Linked DNA regions of Homo sapiens: region 2 is linked to region 1. Evidence: promoter capture Hi-C in 16 types of primary human blood cells and fetal thymus (Javierre and others, 2016). All regions are on one chromosome and are shown on one strand. Each heading gives the region's core, a stretch centred on a gene start or on the middle of the fragment in contact. The rest is flanking DNA. Distances are from core to core; before and after follow the strand shown. Region 1 holds the start of PHF14 (PHD finger protein 14). Region 2 overlaps TMEM106B (transmembrane protein 106B).

Evidence for each region. Contacts are between HindIII fragments. The CHiCAGO score rates a contact against its expected background, and 5 or more counts as called.
Region 2: a contact is called between a fragment that was not itself captured here and the fragment with the promoter of PHF14 in region 1, in 3 of 17 cell types (non-activated CD4 T cells, monocytes and activated CD4 T cells). The highest score is 8.1, in non-activated CD4 T cells.

What each region holds. Positions count from the first base shown.
Region 1 is chr7:10,972,157-10,975,316 of GRCh38, reverse strand. PHF14 (PHD finger protein 14) reads right to left here and starts at 1,445. Exons shown (of 18, transcript NM_001007157.2): 1 at 993-1,445; 2 at 372-482. The coding sequence starts at 993. RefSeq lists silencers at 601-650, 1,631-1,690, 2,201-2,250 and an enhancer at 1,381-1,675. The HindIII fragment of the contact is 4,357 bases long and covers 1-2,027 here.
Region 2 is chr7:12,214,835-12,217,994 of GRCh38, reverse strand. It overlaps TMEM106B (transmembrane protein 106B), which reads right to left. Exons shown (of 8, transcript NM_001134232.2): 2 at 2,968-3,160. Among named protein-coding and RNA genes, the nearest start is that of TMEM106B, 5.1 kb to the right of the region's middle. The HindIII fragment of the contact is 1,747 bases long and covers 694-2,440 here.

The sequences.
Region 1 (3,160 bases), core at 196-2,695:
GAAGAACCCTGCTCAGGGACTATTAATGGTCCACACACCTCTCAGGATACTTTTCTACTTCGGGATATCTTTCAGTTTTTTCCTCTATAATATAAGCATAAATATATTTTAAGGTGTAAAACAGAGAAATCCTTTTGCATCTTTGGAAAAAGTCCTTCCCCTGACTGCTAATTATCTCTGAGGAAAACAGAAGCAATTATAGGTCTAGTGACAGGATCTAAAGGCAAAATGGGAAATCAAATGGACAAAATAAATGAAGTTTACGTGCTTTCACTTAAAATTGGCATTTTAATCAAAACCGATTTAAAAAGTCTAAAAATAAGCCTAACTCCAGAAAGCTGGGAAAGGGGAAGAGAGAAGGAAATATTTACCTGAGGCATCTCCAACTTTAAAATCACTGTCATCTGAACTATCATAATCAAGAGCTTCCAGCAGAGAAGCTGCCAAAGGCTTCACCTGCCTCCTCTTGGAGCTGCGATCCACTGTGAAGAGAAAAAAATTACATTGTCATTCATAATCACACCAAACACAGGGGAGAGTTGTGGTGCTAAGAGAACATAAAGATGACCTCGCACAAGGAATTTTTGTCTAACTGAGTTCTCAGCAAAAGGGGTCAGGAGAAGGTTGGGGTGCAGAAGCAGGGTGGGGAGGGCTGGACAGCTCCACGGGCAGTTTCAAAGGCAGCTCCAGCCCTGATGCTGCCAACGCCAACTCAGACCAGCTAAAATCGAAGCTGACCCTCTTGCTCATCTTTTCGAGATGTTTCTGCACCTTCCTCGTAATCCCCCACTTAGACATCGTAACAGTCAATAAAAACGGCAAAAATCAGGGAATAAAACAAGCGGGCTTCATTCCCGCGGACCATGGAGGGCGAGGGTCCACCAATCCTGCTTTCCCGCAGGACTCTCCCACCCCTGCCCTGCTCCCACCGGCCCTGACTTCTAGAATGGCTGAAATGGACCTCTCGCCGCAGAGGCCTCGGATACACTTACTAAGGAATCCGTGAGGTGGTCGTTTGGAGAAGACTTAGGGAGAGGCTGCAGGAGCCCAGGCAGCGCCGAGGTCGGGGACTGGGGCCGCGAAGACAAGTCCGAAAGATGCTATTTAAAACCGGCGCGCAGCCAGCCGGACAGGGGCGCTCCCAAGAGTAGCCCCGCGGTCCCCTAACCCCCCGCCCCCCCGGCCTCGCCTGGCCCTGGCCGCTCGAGCCCCTTCCCACAGCGCTCCCTGGCCGGAGAAGACCTCCGGCCCAGGCAGCGCAGTCAACCCGGCGGCCCCGGGGAGTTAATTTCTCCCGTTAAAACTAGAAGAAAAAAAATTAAAGAAAGAAAAACTTTATTAGCCTGGACCAGAAGCAACGAAAGACCAGAAATTGCACAGCGCGAGGGCGGCTGCCTCAGACAATAGGGAAAGCAGCGACCCGGATACAGCTCTGAAAAGGAAGTGAAAACACGAGGCTGAGCGCAGCCCTGAGAGCAGCAGGAATTGAGGGCGCATGCGCAGGACTCGCCCCCGCGCACCCTTCCCGAGCAGGAGCCGAACAGAGCCGAGTGAAAGCCCAGGGAGCCGCGCGGAGGCGAGCGGAGCCGAGTAGTGCCAAGGCGGAGCAGAGATCCCCGCCAAACCCTGTGCAATTCCGCCCATAAACCCCAAAGGCTCCGCCCTCTCCGCGCCTAATTCACCTCCTGAGTCCAAATCCCTGGGAGGCCAGTTTTTGTTTCTGATCTGTTTTTTAAGGATTTACTGAGTAAACGTTCCACAAAGGGATGTTTGCTACCTTAAGCCACTACCAATATTTAAATGATATTGTCACCGGTAGAGGATCGTGACTGCAAGTTGTCCAGGTTCTTGGCGTTTTTAACAAAGAATTGGACAAAACGCCCAGCAAAGCAAAGAAAGAATGAAGCAACAAAACAACAAAAGCAGGGACTTATTGAAAATTAAAGCACGCTCTGTACGGAAGCGACCTGAGCAGCGGCTCAAGGGCCCGGATACAGAATCTTGAGTCCAAATACCCTCTAGAAGCTTCCTATTGGCCACCTAATGCTCACCTCATGTAAATGAAGTAACGCGCAATCAGTCTGATTGGTTGCAGAAAGCAGCCAACCAGAGGCTGAAGTGAAGTTACAAAGGTCATGCTCCTGTGCAAACATTGGTGCAAAAAGCAATCAATCAGAGGCTAGGGTGAAGTTACAAAGTGGTATACCTCTATGCAAAGGAAGATTTCCCCTGCAATCAGTTTGATTTCTTGCAGATGGTGAAGTTACAAAGTGATACTTCTATGCAAAGGAAGACTCTCCTGCAATCAGTCTGATTTGCTGCCCACAGCCAATTTCCCATCTGCCCTGCAGAAAAAGTGGGGGTTTGCAAAGGGAGTAGCCTCTGGTCCTTTTGTTACTTAGGCATGGAAAGTTAGGGGTTTCCTTTCAATTTAGTTCTTAGGAAGTCGGAGTGACACATCCTTAGGTTCCCTGCCTCCACACCCTATTCTCCTGCCTCACTCTCACCCAAACTATCATTGCCATGTGACCTCTCAAACTTTTCTATTGTGCTATAGAAACTTCTATTCCAAAATGTATAACCTACTTAGTAAACATTTTTCCTTTTCAATGCCCATTCTTTTTACCTCCTCATCTGAAATAGAAACAGTTACCCTGCAGCCCTCTCAAATGAAAACCACTCATCCTTCCATACTTCATTTTCTCAAGGTGCAGAAGTGGCATCCCATGCTTAATACTCCTCATTGCCTTTCAGATATTTATTCTTCCAGTTAAAATCCTAGGAACTTGGTTATTTTAAAAACTCCACTCTGGGAATTTCACTTCCATTCTACTTTAAACACCAACCATATCATGGACTGATAGTCTTATCTATGAAATTATAAATCCAAATATTCCACTGTTTGACAATAGCCTTTTAGATTTATTTGGAGCAATTATGCTGAATCATCTAAAAGAGAAATTCAAAATCTGGCATTCGTGTTTATGTAAAACTAATTTCTAGAAGGAGATTTTCAGAATCAAAATGTATTAATTCATTTACTTTAATAAATAACACCTAGTTGCTCTAGAAAAACTGTACTGCCGGGTGCGGTGGCTCACGCCTGTAATCCCAACACTTTGGGAGGCTGAGGCGGGTGGATCACTTGAGGTTGGGAGTT
Region 2 (3,160 bases), core at 318-2,817, 1.2 Mb before region 1:
GAAGTCTCAAGCTTTAAGAGCCCCCTACATAATGAGCCTTCCAGGGCCCTTTCAGGTCTCACCCCAATCCATGTTAAAGTCACTTCAAAATCCGTGATTTCTTTCTTGGGTTGAGCTATATCCATAAGTTTAAAGGATAAATGGACCTTTAAATGCCAATTTTATAATCTTATTAGAAGTTGGCTTATCATATTAACTATTAAGGTATCAGATAGTCAAGTTCTCTTTAAAAGCTTTCTAAAATGCTTCTGTTATTTCCCCCGACACATCTATACTCTTCCTCTCATCTGTGCTCCCCCATCACACCCATATATAATTATACAAATACATATAACATGGATATCTGTATCTTTGTGTGTTTACATATCTCACCTTGTTTAGTGGTATTCATCTGGCTAAAACTACAACCCTGGTTAAAACCAACCCTCTGGCTCCTATGCATATATCAACAGAGCTAAACATGGACACAGAAAAACACACAACTACACTCACTGGTTTCATTTTTGATCACTCATGTCAAGTAGCACTTAATGATGTCAACAATCATACTACATTTCCCAAGTTCATACTCTCAAGCTGACTCTCCAAGACCACAATTTTATAACTTCAACTCTCTTCAAATCTTTAATATCTTCTTCGCTATCCTCATTCTTAGTTCATTATGTGATAAATGGAAGATAATTTCTACAAGCTTCTATTATCAGATCTATCCACCTACCTGCTTCTGTGTCCATACTTTACCTTCTCTTTTATTACCAAGAATAAACCACCTGTGCTTATAACTTACCTTTTATAGAAAAAAAGAGCAGCTCTTTGTTCTTGTGCAGTAGATCTGCCCTTCTGTCTATTCAAGAACATTGCTCCAATAATTCTCTTATCTCCCGAATTACCAATGTTTTCTCTACAGATAATTCTCATCAGTATACAACTGTCTATTATTCACTCTATCTTACAAAGAAAAAAAAAAATCCCTCTCCTGACCTCACAGCCCCTTCTAATGACTACCTCTCTTCTCTCTGCTATGGAGCCAAACCCCTCAGAAAATCTATTTTCTCTCTATGTAACATCTCCTATGCACTCTTGAGCCCACTCTATACATGCTACACGTCTTTACCAAAACCGCTCTTTTAAACTCTTCTGTGGCCTCCATATAACCAAATCCAATGGCCAGTTCTCAGTCTTCACACTACCCAATCTATCAGTAGCATATGACAGTTGGTCACTCTTTCCTCCTTGGTACACTTTCTTCACTTATCTTCCATGATACCACACACAATGATTTCCTCCTCTCATTCTAACTTTTCTTTCTCAGGGTCCTTTGTTAATTCTTTCACTGACCTTGATATGCTACAGTGTCTCAGGATTCGCTAGGGTCTCATTTTTGCCATCTGCACTGACTAGCTTGCTGCTGTCATCCAGCTGAGCTTTAAGTGTCATCTATACATTGGTAACTTGAGGCTGGGCGCTGCAATTGAATTCCTGACCCTTATGATAACTAACTGCCTAATGAACATATCCACTTCCACGTCAAATAGGCATCTCCAAATATCCATGTCTAAACTTGAGCTCCTGAACTCTCCTGTGACATATACACTCAAATAATCTTTTTTTTTTCAATTTTAATAAATTGCTACTACATTCTTTCAGTTGCTCAAACAAACCCCCCCAAAAAAACTCTGGAGTCATCCTTGATTTCCTACTTTCCATAATCTGTATCCAGGCGGCCAAAAAAGTTTACTGGTCATACCTCAAAAATGTAACCAGACTGCTAAAACAGTACTCCCCTACCCCCTGAGCCTGGTGCATTAATCCCTTCAACTACAATAATTATTTTATTCTTAAATAGCTACTATCCTTGTGAAAATAAAACCATCATACTCAAAGGCCAACGCAAATGTAAACTTCAATTCAAACCCACAGCATTTTAAGATACATTTTAAGCATCTTAAAAAGGTACACAAAGTATACTTTATACTTTGACCTTCTTCCCTCTGGGTATCTCCAGGGTCACACATCAACTTTCACCAAGAAGATAATGAGAACAGCATAAAGTATCTTTATTATTTCTACTTATTGCCACTGTTCCTAAAGTAGCTTACAAGCAGCACACAGGGGATTATTTCCTTCTGACGTCCCCTATGATATATCACAAACAATTTTTTTTTTTCAATTTGGCTCATTTTCACGTACCATCCCTCTTCACAGAGTTTCTTTAACTCATTAGGGCACAGCCAGCTTATTCTTCTTCTTTAGATAATGAATTAAAAATATTAGGTTGGCCAGGCGTGGTGGCTCACAGCTGTAATTCTAACACTTTGGGAGGCCAAGGCTGGATGATCGCTTGAGCCCAAGAATTCGACATCATCCTGGGAAACATGGGGAAACTCCATCCTTATTATTAAAAAAATAAAATTTTAAAAATAACATGAAAGAATAAGCTTCCTTACACATTAACTCTGGCTGGGCATGGTGGCTTACTGCTATAATCCTAGCACTCTGGGAAGCCGAGGTGGGAGGATTGCTTGAGGACAGGAGTTCAAGACCAGCCTGGCCAACAATTGCGAGATCTCATCTCTTAAAAAAAAAAAAAAAATAGGTCAACAAATTACTTAAATTGCTTCTAACATCTGATATAGCAAAGTAGCAAGTAACTATGATGTCATCTCTACAGATGCCAAATAGGACTAAAAGTTTTCATTTACAAGACAGTGAATATCTGCTATAATAGCAGGTGGGAATGAAAAAATACTGGAGGTAGTGAGGTGGTTTTCTTTACTGCTTTAGGAACCTTAATTAATACTTTATTTGTTTCTTTTGCATCTTTTTGACTGAAGGTAACTGATATGATGTTTCAACTTTAATTCTAAGAGTCCTCTAAAACAGGTGGTTCCTGAGACCCACAGTTTTTATAATACTTGAGCAAATACCTAAAATCATTTAAAGGGAAAACAATACAATAACACATACCCCTAGGAATTCTTCCTGTTCCCTGACAAGTAGGGCAGGTGACACTATCTCTTCCTGTAAATTCCACATATGGAAACTGAGAGACATCTCCATTTCTTCCATCTTCATTATGGACTTCACTATTAACCAGTCCATTCCTCATGTTTTCAGATGTGACTCCATCATAAGCATCTTCTTTGCTTGAATGCAAAGG